Linked DNA regions of Homo sapiens: all the other regions are linked to region 5. The links are contacts of gene promoters, found by promoter capture Hi-C in blood cells and fetal thymus (Javierre and others, 2016). All regions are on one chromosome and are shown on one strand. The core of a region is centred on a gene start or on the middle of the fragment in contact, and the rest is flanking DNA. Distances in the headings are between cores, read along the strand shown. Region 1 has its middle 4.5 kb from the start of ZNF264. Region 2 overlaps ZNF470-DT (ZNF470 divergent transcript). Region 3 overlaps ZNF805 (zinc finger protein 805). Region 4 holds the start of AURKC (aurora kinase C). Region 5 holds the start of ZNF227 (zinc finger protein 227). Region 6 holds the start of ZFP28 (ZFP28 zinc finger protein). Region 7 overlaps ZNF71 (zinc finger protein 71).

Region 1 (3,011 bases), core at 231-2,730, about 13 Mb before region 5:
AATTGTTAAAGGCTATAAATAGCTGGAAAGAAAAAAGTTTCATAGAGACAGAAAGTAGATTTACAAAAAAAGTTCTCCTGACTCAAAAACAAAACAAAAAGAATCAGCAATGTTTCAAACACACACAAAAAATAATAAAATAAATTCAGTACTTGAAATAAATCTCTGTGTTTGTGTGTGTGTGTTCCATTTCTCCCTAATTCCATTTCTCAACTGCATGAATCCTTAACTCATGAAAGATACTTTTTACCCTCTTGGCTCCACAGTTAATGGAGAAAAAAAAATCATCAACAGTGACTTCTAAGATGGCTTAATATACTATATAATAAAATATTTTTATTTATCATGAAATAAATTAGTACAGTCCATGAAACTCCTGCTCTGCTTCATATTGCATAAACATATGTATACATAATTATGTATTTTATGAATATATCAGCCTTCTAATTAGAGTCCTGGAAGTTTTCTCTCTAGGCTGATAGGACAATCTCCAAAGTTACCAGAAACTTGAATTCAAGTGTTCTTTTTATGAACTCTCTCAAAGAAGCCCTGAACTGTAGCTGACTGTAAGCCACCTTTGGAGAAGACTCAAAGTCAAACAATAATTGTGGATGACAAAAGTCTTAGGACAACCATAGTTAAAAAACAATGGACAAGGAAATTTGGTTATTTCTGTGACAAACGATTATGACAAATGTACTTTTCTCAAGTTTTAAGAGTGGGAGGGTCAATTTCTAGGTTCAGTCAAAAGAAACCACAAACATCAGTTCTATGGGACAACTGGGTTGGTTTTCACAAGAAACTGACAAGCTCACATTAGGAGTTCTAACTGTCCTCCCAGAAAGGTATATTAAGCAATCTTAGAAGTCACTATTGATGATTTTTATTTTCCATTAACTGTAGAGTCAAGAGGATAAAAAGTATCTTTCATGAGTTAAGGATTCATGCAGCTGAGAAATGGTATTAGGGAGAAATGGAATACACACGCGCGCACACGCGCACACACACACACATATTTTACTGCAAGAAATGGGGGTGGTGTGCGGTGGCTCATGCCTGTAATCCCAGCACTTTGGGAGGCTGAGGAAGGAGGATTGCTTGAGTGTAGGAGATCGGTCAGAGTGGTGGGAGAAGCTATAAGAAAAGGACGCAAACCTTCTGAAAGGTCAGAAGTCTCTGCATAGCTTCACGGGAGAATAAGCTGAAAGCAGCTGTTCTCTTACCCTAAGGCAGAGGGCAAGGAGTAGGTACAAGGAAGTGTAGGGGAATTTAACATAAACAGGCTTGTTTACTTATGTTAACTAGGAACCAACATTTGATCATTCACGAGTGAGGCTGCCCCCAAAAGGGGGAACAATAATGTTAATTACCCACAGACTGTGTTGGCTCCAGGCTTTTGGCATTATGTCTGTACTGAATAAAAGCAAGCAGTCCCAGCTTATCAAGACTGCTCACTCTTCAGCAGTCCCCTAGCTGCTCTTACACTACATACCTGTGTCTGAGTACTCCTTTCATCCATCGCTCAGCCAGGGTCTACAGGACAGACCCGGCTCTTGAGGCCGGGAGTTAAGAGACTAGCCTGTGCAGCATAGTGAGACCATTCCTCCACAATAATTTTTTTTTTTGAGACAGAGTCTCGGCACTGTCACCCGGGCTGGTGTGTAGTGTTGCAATCTTGGCTCACTGCAACCTCCATCTCCTGGGTTCAAGCAATTCTCCTGCCTCAGCCTCCTGAGTAGGTAGGATTACAGGTGCCCGCCACTGTGCCTGGCTAATTTTTTATATCTTTTAGTAGAGATGGGGTTTCACTGTGTTGGCCAGGCTGGTCTTGAACTCCTGACCTCATAATCCGCCCACCTTGGCCTCCCAAAGTGCTGGGATTACAGGTGTGAGCCACCCACCTTGCCTACAATAAAAATTTTAAAAAAAGATAGAAGAAGAAATGGGCTATGTGATTGCAGGGACAGGCCAGTCCCAAATCTGTAGGCTAGAGTTCAGGCCAGCAGAATTGAAACGTGGATAGGAGCTGAAGGTGCAGTCTTGAGGCAGAATTTCTTCCCCAGGGAACCCTGTTTTTCTCTTAAGGCCTTTCAACTGATTAGATAAGAACCACCTACATTATCAAAATAACTGATTATAGATGTTAACCGTTTCTATGAAATACCTTCATAACAATACCCTGGTCAGTGTTTAATACAATTTCTGGGTAGTACAGCCTAAACAAGTTTACACATATAGTTGGCAATCATACTCTACCCCTTGTCACCTTAAACCATCTTTAATCTTCAAATAAATACAGTAAAAAAGGCTTATTTTGGCCAGGTGTGGTGGCTCACACCTGTAATCCCAGTACTTTGGGAGGCTGAGGTGGGTGGATCACTCGAGGTGAGAAGTTCGAGACCATCCTGGCAAACATGGGGAAGTCTCTACTAAAAATACAAAATTAGCCAGGCGTGGTGGCACACACCTGTAATCCCAGCTAGTCAGGAGGCTGAGGCAGGAGAATCGCTTGAACCCAGGAGGCAGAGATTGAAGTAAGCTGGGATCGGGCCACTGCACTCCAGCCTGGCGACAGAGCGAGACTCCGTTTCAAAAGAAAAAAAAAAAAGATTAAAAAAAATAGAGATGGGGGTCTTAATATGTTGCCCAAGCTGGTCTTGAATTCCTGGCCTCAAGCAATCTTCTCACGTTGGCTTCCCAAAGTGCTGGGATTACAGGCGTGAGCCACAGCACCCAGCCCTGGATATTATATGCTTGCTTGAAAGCCTGTGGCAGGAAATCCACTTCCTACCCCAATCTCCACATGGCTCAGCCCCTCATCTCCCTATAGACTTTGATCTATGTCACATTCTAAATAAGCTGTTTCCTGATCATTCTAATGAAAATTGCAAACAACTCCCCAAACTCTGACACCCTGATCCACCTTACTCTCCTTTTCCTTCTTTTTGTTATAGCACTGGTTAACTTATCATGTCTATTTCTGTATTATAATTATTGTTTATTTCTGACTT
Region 2 (2,743 bases), core at 159-2,658, about 12 Mb before region 5:
CTTAAGGGTTGAGAGGGAGAGTCAAGGGAGAGTCAAAGTTTTGTAAGATCCTTGAATCCTTCTTGTTAGTCTCATTCCAATAATCCAAATTCCAGTATTTCCCTAATTGCTTAACAGAAGTGACACGGTTGTGAATTCAGTGTGGGGAAAAGAGAGGTCAGACTGTTACTGTGTCTATGTAGAAAGAAGTAGACATAAGAGACTCCATTTTGTTCTGTACTAAGAAAAATTCTGCCTTGAGATGCTGTTAATCTGTAACCCTACCCCCAACCCTGTGCTGGCAGAAACACGTGCTGTGTCGACTCAAGGTTTAATGGATTTAGGGCTATGCAGGATGTGCTTTGTTAAACAAGTGCTTGAAGGCAGCATGCTTGTTAAAAGTCATCACCACTCCCTAATCTCAAGTACCCAGGGACACAAAACACTGCAGAAGGCTGCAGGGACCTCTGCCTAGGAAAGCCAGATATTGTCCAAGGTTTCTCCCCATGTGATAGTCTGAAATATGGCCTTGTGGGAAGGGAAAGACCTGACCGTCCCTGAGCCCGACACCGGTAAAGGGTCTGTGCTGAGGAGGATTATTAAAAGAGGAAGGCCTCTTTGTAGTTAAGAGGAAGGCATCTGTCTCCTGCTCGTCCCTGGGGAATGGAATGTCTTGGTGTAAAACCCGATTGTGTGTTCCATCTACTGAGATAGGAGAAAACCGCCTTAAGGCTGGGGGTGAGACATGCTGGCGGCAATACTGCTGTTTAATGCACCAGATATGTTTGTGTATGTGCATATCAAAGCACAGCACATTTTCTAACCTTGTTTATGACACAGAGACATTTGTTCACGTTTTCCTGCTGACCCTCTCCCCACTATTACCCTATTGTCCTGCCACATCCCCCTCTCTGAGATGGTAGAGATAATGATCAATAAATACTGAGGGAACTCAGAGACCGGTGCAGGCGTGGGTCCTCCGTATGCTGAGTGCTGGTCCCCTGGGCCCACTTTTCTTTCTCTATACTTTGTCTCTGTGTCTCTTTCTTTTCTCAGTCTCTCGTCCCACCCAAGGAAAAACGCCCACAGGTGTGGAGGGGCAGGCCACCCCTTCATTCAGTAAGCATCATTGTTGAGCAAATAACTGCATCTACTGCTGCCTTTTTTAGCAAATACAGCCCCATGCTTAAAAGGAGTATGAGATTCTTCCCAACACAGACATACAGGTACTGATTCAATTCCTTAAGGCCAGAATTTCAAGTAGCCTTGAAATTTTAATTACCCAATTTCATTATAAACAGGTATCATATATACTTTTGGAAGTAGTATTCCTCAATACCTTTGTTTTTGGTAGGAGCTATCCAGACCCTAGTGCACAATGGGCTTAGGATCCTGCTATATCATGAATATCCTTTCACAGCACAAAATAGGATTAGGAATTCATCTGTGCTTTGATCTGTCTCACTGGACATCCATCTTGAATACTCTGCTTCTCTACAGTCTAGTAATCATTCTGTAGTATAAATTTCTGCATTGGCTAGCTCTCTTTGCTTGAGAACCAAAGTATTTGACTCTGACTTAAAATGAGAAATATTAGAATACCAGGTAGTTCACAGACTCAAAGAATTTAACTCAAAACCAAGATGTGAGAAAGCAGGAATCATCTCAATGGATCTCAGTGACAGGTGGAGGAATCCTTAGGTTGCTGCCAAAGGATGACTTAATTCAAACGAATTCCAGCCTAGGAGTCATATCCCACATACTTCACAGCAGGTATAATAAAGGTCCCACCAATCAAAATGAATATTGACTAAAACAAAACATCCATTCTGGCCATACTGGTTCATAAAGCTGAATATTGGCCCTGTTCCTGTCCCTGTGTCTCTAATCAAAATACAGAGAATGAATCTGGTTGTCTTACTTGGAGCATGTGTCACTGACAGTTCATCAGAACAATACAGAATGAAGAAAGGGAAAGTGCCCGCAAAATGCTAGGAAAAGTCTGTGTGTTAAAGACAAAACCAGATTTCAACATAGATACTGAGGCTGTGCATGTGTTTGTATGTACATACACACATATATATTCAGTATTAATTTTGACTCTATGACTAGGTCATTTTACCTGTAAGGTTCTGTAAACCACATATTTCATTAAATATGTTGTAGACGCCACTCCATAGAAGTGTATGTAGAGCTTAACTGCTTTCTACTAATCGCACAACACAGTACTGAATAACTACAATTTAGTCAATCCACTTGGCAGGGCGCTGAATTCTTATTTGTCATAATTGAAACAATTCTACAAGAAAACAATATTTATATCTACCTATTTATTCCAATGGGATAAAATTCCTAGATCTGGAATTACTGTTTGAAAAAAATTCACGTTTATAATGTTGATAGGTCATGCCATCCGAGGAGATAGGGGACGAAGTTACACTGCTAATAGTGATCAAGTACCTGTTTTCCCACACTAATACCATTACTGGATATTATCCAAATTTTATATTGTAATCTACCAAGAGCCAGGAAAATGTGGTTTCATTCATATTCTTCTGATTAATGAGGTTAAGAATTTCACGAATTTTCTTTATCCATTTGGATTCTTCAGGGTGATTCGCCTATCAGTGTGCATGGCAAGTTGTTCCCCACTGCTCTGTATATGTAACAGCATTCTGTTATTTTCTATAAGTTGTATACATTTCCCTTCAACTGTCTTTTACAAGTTTTTGGTGCCTTTCACCATGCTGAAGTTTTAGATCGT
Region 3 (2,738 bases), core at 159-2,658, about 13 Mb before region 5:
ACACTCCATGCACTCATAGGGCTTCTCTCCAGTGTGGATGCTGAAGTGGCGAATGAGGTCTGCCCTATTGCTAAAGGCTTTCCCACACTCTTTGCACTCGAAAGGTTTTTCTCCAGTGTGGGCCCTTTTATGCAAGATGAAAGTAGAGCAGTGGGTGAAGGCCTTTCCGCATTCACTACACACATATGGCTTCTCCCCAGTGTGAATCCGCTGGTGCCTTTTGAGGTAGGATCGGTGGTTGAAAGCCTTCCCACACTCGAGGCACTCAAAGGGCTTCTCTCCAGTGTGGATGACATAGTGGTGAATCAGCGCTGCGCTCTCACAGAAGGCCTTCCCACATTCACTGCACTCATAGGGCTTCTCCCCGGTATGAGTCTGCTGGTGCCACATGAGGTATGATCTGTGTTTGAAGACCTTGCCACATTCGAAGCACTCGTAGGGATTCTCACCACTGTGGATGATGTAGTGTCGAATGAAACCTGGCCTATCTCGAAAGGCTTTGCCACACTCTTTGCACACAAAGGGTTTTTCTCCAGTGTGGCTCCTGTTATGCAAGACAAAAGTGGAGCGGTGGGTGAAGGCCTTTCCACATTCACTGCACTTATAAGGCTTCTCTCCACTGTGAATCCGCTGGTGCTGGGTAAGGTGTGACTTCCGATTAAAAGCCTTCCCACACTCCATGCACTTATAGGGCTTCTCCCCAGTGTGGACCATGTGGTGCTGCAGGAGGTATGTACTCTTGCTAAAGGTTTTTCCACACTCTGTGCATTCATAGGGCTTCACTCCAGAGTGAATCCTCTCATGCCGAGCAAGCAGGCGTTTCTTGTTAAACACTTTTTCACATTCATTGCATTTAAAGATATTTTCCTCTTCCTGAATAACTGGATTTTTACCTGATCCATGTGAGTCACAGTCATGGACATCATCTCCTAAGGAGACTCGATCCTGTATAATCCTTGAACACACACTATCAGCTGTCCCTAAACCATCATGTTTGGGGCTCATTTTTCCAGGAAGCTTCTCCTTTTGGGAATCTAACCCTGGTCTCAAGCGTTCTCCCTGCATTTCTGAAAACCCATCCTGATCCTTGGGTTGCCCCAACTGGGAGTCCCCTGAAGCTCCTTGTGTTAGTTGTCCCCAAAAAGAGATTCCTTCAGACAAGGCTAGCTCACAGGTGGTAGGTTCTGTGCTCTTGGGTTTTCCTTTGTCACCTGAAAGAAATCCAACACACAGAAGGGCTTGTTAGTAATGTAAAAAGAGAAGAAACAAACTCACCACTTCAGTAAAAAAAATGAAGTTATAAATGGTGCCTTTATGTCTGTTATATTTTGCCATCTTGAACCCCAGATCTATAATTTGTTTCTTTTATTTTCCTTGGATTCCTGACTCCTTGAAAGGGAGACCAGGCAGAGAGACCAGGTGAGGGGACAGGGCCTAGAGTGGAGATATCGCTTCAATTCCAGACTAAATATTTATATAAAGGTAACTCATTATAGGTACCTAAATAGTTTATCCTAAATAGATGACTCTGGCTGAGGTCTGGTGGCACCAGAAAGACCAACCAGTGAGTAGAAGGTTAGGTCTCTGAGCCACAAGATATCAGCTGAACTCTGGAAAAGGGACGAAGGCTGGAAACTTCACATGGCAATGTGGGCAATGTCTCGATTAACCGTGCTTGTGTAATGAAGCTCAACAAACTCTAAAAACCAGAGCTCCAGTGAGTTTCCTGGGTTTGCAATGCTCTGTGCACATATTTTACACTCAATGCTGGGTGGGTAACAAGTTACTGAGGAAGCTTTGTGTTTGGAACCCCTTCAGCCCCACATCCCGTGTCCTCTTCTAATTTGTATGCTTTGTCTGTAATAAACAAAACTGTGAGTATAATAGGTTTTAGAAAGTGTTGTGAGTCTTTTTAGCAAGTTATGAAACCTAAGGTTGGTTTCAGGAAATCCCTGAATTTGCAGTTGGAATTAAGAGGATTTGGGTAGACTTGACAAAGTCCTGGAGGACTGTGTCCTTATCTTGAGTTTGGCTAATCCTGGGTAGAAAAAGATCAAGGCAGTTTTCCAATAGAAGGTACCCAGTGAAGTAAGTCCCACTTGTCACGAGAGAATGTGAGAAAGACACTATAGCCTTAGGAGAAAGAATATGCAAATGAGCTACAGTGCATGAGAGGGTGGTGGTGATGAGAATCTAGGGAAAGATGAGGCACAGGGGGACTGATTCCCAAGATTCTGACCTAGGTGACAGCTGTGAAGAGCAGTGCCACTCTCAGGACAGAGCTCATAAGGCAGAGGTACCACTCTGGCACAGACATAATGCAAACTGGGAATAAAGAAGAACAGAGAGCTCAGAAATCCCCTTGCACATAGATGGGGCTTTGGTAGATGGCAAAGAGGCACAGCACCTCAGTGATGAGAGACTACTAAGGAATTAGAGCTAGAAAAATTGGCTACCAACACGGGGAATGGAAATATTGTATTCTATCACATTCTATACTCAAAATCAACTTCAGATTGATAAAGACTTGAATGCCAAATGGCAAGTTTTACAACTTACAATAAAATAAACAAGAATACCTTTTTGACATTAGGGTAAAGCAACATTTTTTCCACAAGGTACAAAATCATTAATCACGTAAAAAAAAAACATAAATCAGACTACGCTATGTAAGGAACTCATTGAACAAAAGATACTTTAAAAAGAGTGGAAGGACAAAATTAAAAACTAGAAGAATA
Region 4 (3,037 bases), core at 127-2,626, about 13 Mb before region 5:
GGAGAACAGGAACCAGGATTCGAGTGTCTGACCCAGGGTAGGAGGTAGTGTAAATGGAATGAACTGCAGAGAAGTCTTCAAGGTACAAGTGCAGGGTTTACTTGGGGTTAGTATTTGGGGAAAATGCTGGGCTCAGACGTCAAAGATGAAAGAGGAAGCAGAGACTGTCCTTACTGTAGATGAGCCTGGATCTCAATTTCCCGGCGCAGCTGGTGCTCCAGTCCTTCCTTCTCTATCTGCGACTTGAAGAGAACCTTCAGGGCCACAATGAAATGGCTTTCCTTGAGCCGAGCCAGGTACACATTCCCAAATTTCCCCTTGCCCAGGGGACGCCCGATTTCAAAGTCATCGACTGTGAGGCGCCGCCTGACAGGAGAGGAAGAAAAAAGCCTCAGCTTGGGAGGTAGGGTAGGCGGAGGGAAAGTCAGGGATGCCAATGCTCCCCTTCCTCTTTCATTGTATCCTTCCTCTGCCGCTTTCCCTTCTCACACAGACCCAGCCCTATCAGTAGTTCTCGTTCCCAGGAGCCAGCACCCCACACACCCAGTCTGTTCTTCATCCCCACGTCCCACCTTCCTTCCTTTTCCAGATACCAATCCCAAGGGACTCACATGGCTGGGCTGCTGGGCTGCTGGGCTGTTTGGTTTGCTGTAGCCACTGAAAGAGAGGAGGAGGAGGGAGATAGGAAGGGAGAGGGGAGGGAAGGAGAAGGGGAGAGAAAGAGAGGAGAGGAGAACAGTAGAGAAGGGAATAGGGAGCGAGAGGTGAGGGGAAGAAGGGGAGGAGAGAAAGAGAGGGAAGGGGAAGGCAGGGAGAGGGGGAGGGAGAGGTAAGGGGAAGAAGAAAGAGTAAGGTAAGGTAGGGAGGGGAGGAGGAGGTGAAGAAGAGGCAGAGAGAAAGGAAGGGGAGGAGAGAGTAGGGGAGGGAGAGGTGAAAGAAAGAATTGGAGGGAAGGGAGGGAGTGGGGAGAAAAGAAGAGCGTTGGGGAGGAGGAGAGGGAGGGGAGATGTCAACACATGTGTCTTCTGTGCACCCGACCCCTGGCCCAGTCCCCAGCCTTCCCTGCGTCCTTTCTCTGGCGCTGGCTCTCACACTCTTCGCCTGCAGGTTGAGCTTTGCCCAGCTGCACCACAGCTCTGGGGGAGCTCATGGGGAGAAGAGGTGAGGGCGCGGACGCCTTCCTGAACCCTCTGGATGGCTGTTCCCGTTCACAGGGTCCTGAAAGGGGTGGGGGGTCACTTTCTGGCCGGGGCGCTTCCAATCCTGCTCGTCCTGCAGCCTCACTGATGTCTCACTGCTACACAGGCTTCGGGATCCGCGGCGTCGTGAGCAGCCGTGGCTGCGCGGCCTTCTTTTATACCCGGCACCAACCGCTCAGAGAGGTACTTCCTGGCTGGCTCCTATTGGCTGAAATTCCTGACGCCATCGGAAGTGCGCCCAATAGAAAGGACAGAAACGGGAGCCTCAGTCCAGGGTTCCCGGGTTGGGGCGGAACTGGAGTGCTGCGGTCCGGGCTGGGCACTGAAAGCGAGGGCCAGGGGTGAGGCCCGAGAAGGAAGGAGACAGAGGGTGCGGAGAGGTGGTGATGGCCGTTGTGGGAATGAACAACGCATACACCCACGGGGTGTGCATGCGTCAACTAGGAGAGAGCCGCGATGCACGTGGGAATGAACAGACGCCCACTCCTGACGTGCTGGAGCCTCGTGCAGCCCGTGACCCTAAACCACTTCGCGCCTTGTGCAGCCGGCGACCCCAAAACCACCTTGCTTCAAGGTCACGTCCGATTCAGGCCACTCTCCAGGGTCACCGCGATGGGGCTCCCTGAAGCCTGCGGCTGTGCCTGCTCACAGCCAGGACGCCACCAGTCCAGCTCACTTACCCCTCTCCTCCCACTCGCCAAATATTTGTTGGACCCTGTAATCAGTTTGTGGATTTGGCCTCAGATCGTAAAATCAGCCCCCACGTATTTGTTTAGCAAACACATAAGTTTCAAAAACATTAAAAATTGAATTCTTTTAGACAGGGAACATATCTTGCAGAAATATAATTGAAGGCCTGGCGTGATGGCTCATGCCTGTAATCCCAGCACTTTGGGAGGCCGAGGCGGGCGGATCACCTGAGGTAGGCAGTTCGAGACCAGCCTGGCCAACAGGGCGAAACCCCGTTTCTACTACAAAAATTAGCCGGGTGTGGTGGCGCATGCCTGTAATCCCACCTACTCAAAAGGCTGAGGCAAGAGAATCGCTTGAACCCTGGAGGCGGAGGTTGCAGTGAGCCAAGATCATGCCACTGCACTCCAGCCTGGGCGACAGAAGGAGAACGAGACTCTGTCTCAAAAAAAACAAAAACAAAAACAAAAAAACCCAAAAACAAAAAAGCTCGTCTCAAAATATTTGGGGAGACCTATTTGAGTAATAAAACTCTGGTCTCTCATTTAGCTCGATTGATGTGAATTAAACCCTTTATTGCAATTATCCTGTCTTGATAAGTCGACTCTATCTGGGGAGCAGGGAAAATAATGAACCCATTAGGTGGTTACAATAGGTGGATCAGGGTAATGGCGCTTAGCTCAGGCCAACCATTCCTTTCTCAGAGGCTTTCCCAAACCTGTCTGTTTGTTTGTTTATTGAGACGGAGTCTTGCTCTGTCACCCAGGCTGGAGTGCAGTGGCTCGAACTCAGCTCATGCAACCTCCGCCTCCTAGGTTCAAACATTTCTCCTGCCTCAGCCTCCTGAGTAGCTGGGATTACAGGCACCTGCCACCATGCCCGGCTAATTTTTGTATTTTTAGTAGAGACAGGGTTTCACCATGTTGGCCAGGCTGGTCTCGAACTCCTGACCTCAGGTGATCCACTCGCCTCGGCTTCCCAAAATACTGGGATCACAGGTGTGAGCCACTGCGCCCAGCTCCAAACTGTCAATTTAAAACAGCCCCCACTACAACGTCATCCTGTTCTGTTTTTCCTTAGGTCACTCATAACCATGTGAAAGTGCTGTTTTATATATGTGTATATTGTTAATTTAATGAGTATCGATT
Region 5 (2,887 bases), core at 145-2,644:
CTGGATTGGATAGTGCATCTCTATAATGAGCATTCATTACTTCTATAACTAGAATATGACATATTTTGACATGGAATGAAATTAAGTAAGTGAGATGTTGCAGGATTTTTCTAAAAAATTCAAAATTCATCAGTGCAGTTTTTGAGGTCTTCCACAGTAAAATCCATACCTACATTCCCAAGGCTGATTTCCAACGACTCACCGGTAGCCATATGGATTACTATTTAAGATAACTGAAGACGACTGTATCATTGAGATTAAGACCACAGACTCAGAAAAAGGAATAGAAAATAAACAACAACAAAAACCAAAGAAACAAAAACAAACAAAAAAGATCACACAGTCTGAAAAGGAATGCTTGGGTTCAATCCCAAATCCACCTCTTACTATCAGTTGAATAACTTCGGGAAAGTATTTAATAACATAAACTCTGCCTAATTTCCTCATAACAAAATAACAAGACCTACTTCATCAATAGCTATGGTCCACAGACGAATGCCTTAAAATCAAAGTGGTAAGATGTTATTGGTAATACTCATTTCCAAGTAGTTTTCCTACCCACTCTCACATTTATTCAACAAATATTTCATCATTTTTCAGTAGTAACTTACTGAGTGACGGAAACTTGATTAACTGAAAGGACAGAAAATGGAACAACAAAGTGCGTTCAAGAGCAGGTACCTGGGGCTATGCTGGGAGAAGCCAAGAAGTCCCTCCTTCCTCCTCTTTGCAAATTCGGAGGCGGTGAATAAAAGGATGCTGTCAGCACGATGGAGTCTCTATCCCGGATAAACGGCGGTAAACATCCCCACGCATTGGAGCCCGATGACTCAATCCTTCTTAAAAAAAAAAAAGATCTGTAAAAGTTCGGGAAGAGCTCGGTCTCCTGAAGGATACGACAGAAAGGCCATGGCATAAAGCCCTGACTTTTCTTCTCTCTTCACTGGAGCTTCCAGTAAAAAGGGCGCTTGTGAGGGAATCACTGTATCAATAGCAGGAGCCAACCCAGTATCAGGTGCCACCACTGTTCTAAGGTTTGACCCGTATTATCTTGTTTAATTCTAATTACAACCCTACACAGTAACGACTATCTTTATTGCTATTTTAAAGATGAGGAAACAGGAGCGCGGATCATAGGTAACTCGCTGTTTATTATACCCACAGAACTAGCGGCGCTGCTTGCCAAGTGCGGGAGGAGAGCAAACTTCCCGCCCTCGGCCTCTCGGCCTCCGCCGCGGCCGCGACCTCTCCATCCCAAGACTGATGGCTGGGGAGCGCCTATTCCCAAGCACAGGCTGAAAAGGTTCAAGAGGGGTCGTGGGGGTGCAGGGCTGACTCACCTCCCGGACCCAAAAGATGGTGGCGGCCTCGCTTTCCGGGGCGGAAGTGGCTCTGCCTGCCCAGAGCTCCTGAACTACCCTTCCCAGAAGGCCCGCGCTCCTGCGGCCCAATTGTTTCCGGACAGAGTTCTGGAATACGTTTCCCAGAACTTCCAGAAGGAAAAACCATCCAGGTGCCGCCCTCTTCGCGCTTGAAAAAAAAAAAAACAAAAAAAAAAACGGAGCGAGCGAGTGAGAGAGGGTTACGGAGAGTGTGACAAAATTCTCGGAGCTCCCGGACTACAACATCCAGAATCCTCTTCACGGCTTATTGCTGTTTAGCCAGGCTGAAGCAGTTCTCTGATGTCAGTGGAATTTAGGTTTTTCTTATTAACAAAAAGTAACAGCAAATATGTGAAGAATTGGAGCCCTAAAATAAAAAAAGACTCCCAGCACTTTGGGAGGCCGAGGCGGGCGGATCACGAGGTCAGGAGTTCCAGACCAGCTTGGCCAATATGATGAAGCCCCGTCTCTACTAAAAATATAAAAATTAGCCGGGCGTGGTGGCGCGCGCCTGTAGTCCCAGCTACTTGGGAGGCTGAGGCATAAGAATCGCTTGAACCCTGGAGGGTGCAGTGAGCCAAGATCGTGCCACTGCACTCCAGCCTGGGCGACAGAGTGAGACTCTGTCTCAAAAAAAAAAAAAAGAAAAAAAAAACTATTATAAGAAACAGATCACGTGATCCTGTACTAATAGAATTATACCCACCACTTCCAAAAAAAAAAAAAAAAAGGGCAGAGGAAACCCTTTAAGTTTTTACATTTAACAGGATCGACTAATAGAAAAACTACTCTTTAGATACTAAAAGAATGAAAGAGCAATCAAAAAATGCAACGAAGGCAGAATATATTATGGATTTCCACTTTTCTTAATAGCACAGTCATATAATTCAGAACAACTTGCTTACTGAGGATAGCTAGACATAGAAAACACAAGCTTTGGCATATGGTAGATCAACTCCACAAAGCAACTAGGGCCTCTGTAATCATTCCTCAAGGAGTTTCTGAATTTGAAAGATGAACAAATTTATTACTTCAGTGTTTAAACCTTGATCTTTATTTGCTTAAATGTATAATGGAATTGATGTTTCCAAGAATTGAGGGTTGAAAGAAGAGAGCAATACCTAAAAATATCCACATATCTACTACAGTACATGTTTGCAGTTCTCATTTACTAAATATATATTCTTTATTCTGTTATATACAACTATCTCTTATAAAGAACCAAGTATGTGCCAGGAACTAGTTCAAACTATTCAGACTATGGGACCCTCACTACATTTTCACAACTTTTTTCTTTTTTTTTTTGTTCTGTTTTGTTGTTGTTGTTGTTGTTGTTGTTGTTAGACAGAGTTTGGCTCTTTTGCCCAGGCTGGAGTGAAGTGGCATGACCTCGGCTCATTGCAACCTCCGCCCTCACACAAGGTTCAAGCAAGTCTCCTGCCTCAGCCTCCCAAGTCGCTGGGGTTATAGGCACCCCCCTCCCCACCACGCCCAGCTAATTTTTG
Region 6 (2,993 bases), core at 437-2,936, about 12 Mb before region 5:
TGCCAGCCTCTGAGCTATTTCAAATACCAATGATAGTCAAAAAAGACTAAGAATTGAGCACTGCATCTGGTAATGTGAAGATCACAGTAACCCACTCAAGAGCAGTTTGGGTAGGACAACTGGAAGCTGGTTCATCTGTACATATATTTTTTGAGGCCTCAGTGGAAGTGAAATGGTTCATCTATTAATGAGCTAGCTATGATATTTATAGGAGAAGCCAACCGAAACAAACACAACTATTTACTGGCATGTTTTAAAGCCACAAAATCAAGTGGAAAAGCCTTTCATATTGCGCCTCCTCTCCCTAAAATGTTGTCTTTCTTTACTGTGCCTCCCAAACATCTTCTCTCCCTTCAAGGCAAGGCTCAAAAATCACCTCCTTGGTAAATAGGCCTACCCTTCCGCTACAGGAGGCTGGAAGCCAGGAGCGCCTTGTAGTCCTCGCTCATAATACTTGGCCCAAGGATGATCACATTCTAGAATCTTGCTTGTTTCCTTGACATTGGGTCAACAGGCTGTGAGCTCCAGAGCAGGGACTAGGGCTTAGCTATTGGTTTGCTCAGTGGCTGGCACAAAGTGGTCACCAAACAAACCATGTATAGCAGAAGAGTCTGCCGTGTTCCTCAAGGGGCACAATTCCTCCATCAGAGTCCCTCTGAGAAAAGCGGTACAAGGGAGAGGCTGAATCATTTCATCAATCAAGAATGAAGGCTGATTGGGATGAAGAAGAAGCAGGCATCGAGGCCCCGGGCAGTTTAAACTTTTCCCCGTAGCCCATCACTTCACTAGAACGTGAAGAAATAGAAACCCGCGCCCAAACAGGTCTCTTAAACTGAAAACTTTCAAGAAAATAAGCAACATTAAGTCCCGAAAAGCAAGACTGCATTTCAGAGACAAGAGATGAAATGCCAACTCACCTGGGACATGGCTTTAGGTTCAATTCCTGTCCCCACAGCCTCCAGCTTCTTGTTTCTCTCCTGGGGAAGAGCAGTGTCCCTGGAAGGCAGAGCTGAAAGAGAAAGGAGTAGCTAGAGACCAGGTCTACACCACAGTCCCAAATCACCAGCCTAGAAACGTCCCTTCCTGCATGAAAAGGTGGGATCAGATCATTACCCTGCCTAGGGACTGCCACAACGTGGAGATAGGTTTTTTTCCTCCCTGGGAGCACGAAAACAGGAAAAGCGTCTAGTTAGAGTCACCCTGGGAAAGTCAACACCCTTTTACCGCGGCTTGCTGCTCTGAATCAGTTGAGCTTCCAAATCTTCAGATTCTCCCACTCCACCAGCTTCAAAGACCAGGGGCACAGTTCTCCAGCAACTGGTCCCCGAGAGCCCAACCCCCTCCCAGATCTCATCCCGAGATGAATTCGTCCCTGTCCGCTCGGCCCCAAACACCTGTCACTCTCACCTCTGTGCCCAGGCCCCGTAGGGGCCGCTCCTCGCTGGCCTTTGGATGCGAGGCCATTCCTTGAGCGCGGCCTTCCCCGGGCAGGGAGGGCCAAGGTGGCTGGAGTCCCTACAGTCGGGCCTCGGCCCGCCCGGGGCTTTGTGCGGGGGGCGCCTCTACCCGGGAGCGGCGTCGGCTCGCGGACACTCGCGCTCGCCGCCCCCCGCATGTCACCCGAGGCCGCGCGACGCCCTTCCGACCGGTCCCTCACAGACCCACACCCCTGGCCACACCCGCCCGCCACGCCCAGCGAACAGCCCCGCGCGCGCTCCCCCATGGCCCGGCATCCACTGGGCCGCGCCGCGGAGCCGCCCCGCCCCCGGCCGCGCCCCGCCCCTCCCCACCCCTCCCCGCTGCCCCGCCCCGCCCCGCCCCGCCCCGCCCCGCCCCGCCCCGCCCCGCCCCGCCCCGCCCCGCCCCTCAGCCTAGAGAAGCCCGGCGCTTCCCACTTCCAGTGCGCAGGCAGCGCCGCCGGAACCGGGCGTGGCCTCGGCGCAATGCCCGCTGGGAAGCGTAGTCCCAAGCAGGGACGGATGCGGCGGCCCTCGGAGCTCAGGTTGCAAGATACGGTTTGGCCCCGGGCCTATGCAACGCCCGTCCGTCCTGCCCTCTGCGGGTCGCTCTCACTTGTCCCTGGACCGCAGCCGCCGCATAAGTGGTGGCCAACGCTGGGCCTGGGTGTGGCCGGAAGCAGAGGCCGCTCTGACTACACACCCACCCCCCAAAGGCTTCTGGGAGTCGCGCAGGCGCAGCGGCAGACCGGGTGAGGCGGGGCTTGCGGCGAGGGGTGGGACCGCAGGGCCGGAGTAAAAGGGTGCTTGGCTGTGACAGGTGCTAAGGGCCTGGGCGTCAGCTCCTTGCGGGAGCGTCACTGCCGACCGGGAAGGGAAAGGCAATCTTGGGGGCCTCCGGAGTCCGGAGGATCACTCTGATGGGTGATGTGTGTGGGCTAGGAAGGGGGATGTAGAGAGCTTGTGGGATTGTTTTGGGTGCCCCCTCACCTTCTCCCATTATCTCTGGCTACACGGGCCTCCCATCCTCCAAAATACCATTTTCCATTTTGTAACCTATGTATTTGCACGTCCTGGGTCGAAATAGTCTAACCCCAAATTTTCGTCTGGGCTGGCTCCTTTATGCCATTCACTTGTCATCGCCTCAGAGAGGGCTGCCTAACGTCTCAAAAATACCAGCCCTGGCGACCTCTTAAAGTTCCCTTCCTGTGTGAATCACGGTCTGAAGTTAGCTGATGGATTTATTCTTGAACATGTTTAGGACCGGTCTCTCCCCCAGGGGCCTTATCAGAACTGGAGAGCTTCATCCTGGGAGCCAAGGGCCTTGCTGGCTCACAGGCAGTGATGCTGTTACACCAGTCATCACAGATGCACTGACCTCTGCACGCCCAGTCACACTGCACGCCTGGTCTCCTTACTCTTGAATTGATTTCTTTCAGGTCTCCTGGCCTCAGTGATGGAATTAAGATGACTTCTATCTCTGAATCCAAGGGTGACTGAAAGCCGCAAGCTGCAGAAAGGACAAGGTCAGCATTT
Region 7 (2,942 bases), core at 132-2,631, about 12 Mb before region 5:
TACTGGTTGCCAGGGGCCGTGGACTGATGGGGGAAAATGGAAATGAGTGCCAATGGGTACTCGGCTCTTTTTCAGGATGATGAAAATATTCTGAAATGGACTGTGGTGATGGTTAACGCGACTCTATGAATGTACCCAAAATCAGTGAATTGTACACTTTGTGATACGTGATGTGTACCTCAACAAAGGTACCAAACAAATGAAGACAGAATAAACCAAAGCTCCCAAATAAGTCTACTGACACATTTATATAGCAAAATCAATTACAGGTAGATTCAAAAGTTCATTGTTAACATTCAAATGACAAATGGTGAAAAGGAAGAAAATATAGCTGCTATGTGACCTGTGGATGGAGAAACCCTTTCACAGCTTAAAGATGAAGAAAGACACCACAGTGGGAGAAACCAACAGATTTGATTTTAAAAATATGAAATGCTTTTATACAGAAAAAATAAAGTAAAATAAAGAAACAAAAAGCAAATCTGGGAAGAATATTTGCCACAAATATTTACACACACACATTTGCTTCTGTAAAGTCTTTAAAGCATACTCAGATTCCTGTAGACTGCTAAAGCACAAGATGGATCATTTCCCTGCCCACAGAAATGGCTAGTAAACATTTTCTAAGACTTGAACTTCACTAATAATACAAACAATGCTACTCAGAAATAAATCACGTGGCACCATTTGTCCCCTATCAGGCTCATCATGGTTTATAGCATTTGTCATTTATATCCATTTATCATTTATTATCATGGTGCAATATTGCACCAATCTAAATATATCCAACATGCAGAATAAATGCCTGACAACAGCCATATAAATCATCAGAGACCCGCTCAGACATGCTGGTGGGAATACATACCGCCGTAACTGATGTGGAAATAATATCAAAATACCTCAAAAATACCCAACCCAATCTTCCTCTTCAAGGAATCACTCCTAAAGAAATCATATAAGACACAAAGAAAGATTTGTGCCCAGTGTCCCTCATGACACTGTTTATAACCAAAAAAAGAATACTTGGAAACCAATAAAGGTCCAACAACAGAGGAACCATTAAGTAAACCAGGGTATGGCCACTGAACAACACTTTTATGGGGTCATTAAGATGGACGTTACAAAGGAGTTTTTAATGATGTGGAGAAATGCTCAGGATGAAATCTCTGATGAAAAAGCAATCTTTAACATTAAAATTGCTTAGCCAGACTCAAACATTCCAGAGTGATTATCTTTTGGGGTAAAATCATGGGTGAATTTGTGGGCCTCATTCCCATAAGCTTTTGTACTTTCATCACACATGTGGGCATTCACATTCACAAGAAGCATTTAGTGTGTTTGCCCATTTTAAAGGTCACACATCCAGCATGGTCCTGCGCAAGTTTTCACTCAATGTCACATGTCTAAACCACCACTTCCCACAGGTGCCCACCTGTGTCTCCTAAGAGTCCAGAGAGCTAGTTTGGCCATTCCAAAGCTTCCCTGTCCCCTACAACTGACCCCACAGCCAGGGTCAGCATCATCTATAAGCACAGCCCTCTTCATCAGGGCAGACACAGCCCCAGAAGATGGGACTGGGGGCCTTGGAGAGGGTTCGAGCAGCAGAGGCTCACCCAAGGCAGGATCCAGCCTTTGGAAAGGAGAGTGACAGGGCAACATGACTCACCAGTGCCTCATCAGTCAGCAGCTGAGCAGCCATCCCTCTGCTGCCCACGGTGAATAGGAAGACAGGCCTGCGGTGACCAACAGTGCTGTAGGGAGAAGAAAGAGGGAGGCATGCTGAGAGACCAGGCCTAGGCTGGCCTCACAAATGTAGACAGGACAGACACACACCCACTGAGAGACAAGCAGAGACAGACAGATAGACACACATACACATACATCAACAGTGAGTATTTAGAGGGCTTACTGCATGTAGGGAACTTGAATGTATATCACTTGATCTTCCAACCATCCTGGAAGGTAGGTACTACTTCTACCTACCCATTTCACAGATGAGGAGGCTGAGGCCCGAGGAGATTAAACCACTTGCTCAAGATTACAGAGCTGGGACTGGAGTCAGGCAGAGTATGTCTGGGTCCACAGCTTAGCCTCCAGGCTACAATGCCTCACAGATGCACTCCCATGTACACTCCTATAGATATGGTTAACACACATACACTCACACACATTCCCGCAGGCTGCTGAGGGCCACCGGACACCCTGCCTTCTCCCAATGGCCCTGCCCGGATCCCTCCTTGAGTGTGAGTGCTGGACTGAGGCCCCCTGAGATGCCCCAGAACCACCTGTGGCCTCTTTGGGCACTTCCCCCAGACTTCATGGGGTTACCATGAGGTTCAACTAGCAGATATGAGTGTAAGGAACTTCCACCCAGGGGCTCTCAGAGCCAGATTCGCCTAGAGAAATGCATCTTGATTCAATTCTCCTCCAGTTCTCCTGACAAGCTCAGGATAAAGTCTCAAGTGGAGAGATATCTTAACATCCCTGCAACCCATCACTCGCCCCTTGAAACAAAAGAAAAGCAGGAGAATAAGATCCTGTGATTTGCAACAACATGGATAAAACTGGAGGTCATTATGTTAAGTGAAATAAGCCAGGCATAGAAAGACAAACTTTGCAAGTTCTCACTTGTGTGAGCTAAAAATTAAAACAAACTCATGGAGATAGAGACTAGAATGATGAAGAAACCTGAGGCTGGGAAGGGTAGTGGAAGGGTGGGGGGAATGTGGGGATGGCTAATTGGTATTAAAAAAATACAGAGGGCCGGGCGCGGTGGCTCACGCCTGTAATCCCAGCACTTTGGGAGGCCGAGGCGGGTGGATCATGAGGTCAGGAGATCGAGACCATCCTGGCTAACAAGGTGAAACCCCGTCTCTACTAAAAATACAAAAAATTAGCCGGGCGCGGTGGCGGGCGCCTGTAGTCCCAGCTACTCGGGAGGC

What was found. Contacts are between HindIII fragments. The CHiCAGO score rates a contact against its expected background, and 5 or more counts as called.
Region 1: a contact is called between a fragment that was not itself captured here and the fragment with the promoter of ZNF227 in region 5, in 1 of 17 cell types (total CD4 T cells). The highest score is 7.6, in total CD4 T cells.
Region 2: a fragment that was not itself captured here is called in contact with the fragment with the promoter of ZNF227 in region 5 in 1 of 17 cell types (total CD4 T cells); the score reaches 5.0 in total CD4 T cells.
Region 3: a contact is called between a fragment that was not itself captured here and the fragment with the promoter of ZNF227 in region 5, in 1 of 17 cell types (total CD4 T cells). The highest score is 7.6, in total CD4 T cells.
Region 4: the fragment with the promoter of AURKC here is called in contact with the fragment with the promoter of ZNF227 in region 5 in 5 of 17 cell types (total CD4 T cells, naive CD8 T cells, non-activated CD4 T cells and 2 more); the score reaches 20.4 in total CD4 T cells.
Region 6: the fragment with the promoter of ZFP28 here is called in contact with the fragment with the promoter of ZNF227 in region 5 in 2 of 17 cell types (naive CD4 T cells and total CD4 T cells); the score reaches 8.1 in naive CD4 T cells.
Region 7: a fragment that was not itself captured here is called in contact with the fragment with the promoter of ZNF227 in region 5 in 1 of 17 cell types (naive CD8 T cells); the score reaches 8.2 in naive CD8 T cells.

Annotation. Positions count from the first base shown.
Region 1 is chr19:57,185,491-57,188,501 of GRCh38, reverse strand. No RefSeq gene overlaps it. Among named protein-coding and RNA genes, the nearest start is that of ZNF264, 4.5 kb to the left of the region's middle. The HindIII fragment of the contact is 5,081 bases long and covers 1-3,011 here.
Region 2 is chr19:56,557,683-56,560,425 of GRCh38, reverse strand. All of the region lies in intron 1 of ZNF470-DT (ZNF470 divergent transcript), which reads left to right. Among named protein-coding and RNA genes, the nearest start is that of ZNF470, 8.4 kb to the left of the region's middle. The HindIII fragment of the contact is 8,891 bases long and covers 1-2,743 here.
Region 3 is chr19:57,251,546-57,254,283 of GRCh38, reverse strand. ZNF805 (zinc finger protein 805) reads right to left here. Exons shown (of 4, transcript NM_001023563.4): 4 at 1-1,211. Among named protein-coding and RNA genes, the nearest start is that of ZNF805, 12 kb to the right of the region's middle. The HindIII fragment of the contact is 778 bases long and covers 1,020-1,797 here.
Region 4 is chr19:57,229,362-57,232,398 of GRCh38, reverse strand. It overlaps AURKC (aurora kinase C), which reads right to left and starts at 1,376. Exons shown (of 7, transcript NM_001015878.2): 1 at 1,093-1,376; 2 at 612-657; 3 at 175-366. The coding sequence starts at 1,150. The HindIII fragment of the contact is 17,293 bases long and covers 1-3,037 here.
Region 5 is chr19:44,211,039-44,213,925 of GRCh38, reverse strand. ZNF227 (zinc finger protein 227) reads right to left here and starts at 1,394. Exons shown (of 6, transcript NM_182490.3): 1 at 1,341-1,394; 2 at 682-836. The HindIII fragment of the contact is 5,683 bases long and covers 1-2,318 here.
Region 6 is chr19:56,537,641-56,540,633 of GRCh38, reverse strand. ZFP28 (ZFP28 zinc finger protein) reads right to left here and starts at 1,686. Exons shown (of 8, transcript NM_020828.2): 1 at 1,408-1,686; 2 at 918-1,009. The coding sequence starts at 1,615. ZFP28-DT (ZFP28 divergent transcript) reads left to right here and starts at 1,900. Exons shown (of 3, transcript NR_183967.1): 1 at 1,900-2,209; 2 at 2,897-2,983. The HindIII fragment of the contact is 11,931 bases long and covers 1-2,993 here.
Region 7 is chr19:56,600,316-56,603,257 of GRCh38, reverse strand. ZNF71 (zinc finger protein 71) reads right to left here. Exons shown (of 4, transcript NM_001370215.1): 2 at 1,667-1,751. The coding sequence starts at 1,699. ZNF71-SMIM17 (ZNF71-SMIM17 readthrough (NMD candidate)) reads right to left here. Exons shown (of 5, transcript NR_163263.1): 2 at 1,667-1,751. Among named protein-coding and RNA genes, the nearest start is that of ZNF71-SMIM17, 6.5 kb to the right of the region's middle. The HindIII fragment of the contact is 197 bases long and covers 1,283-1,479 here.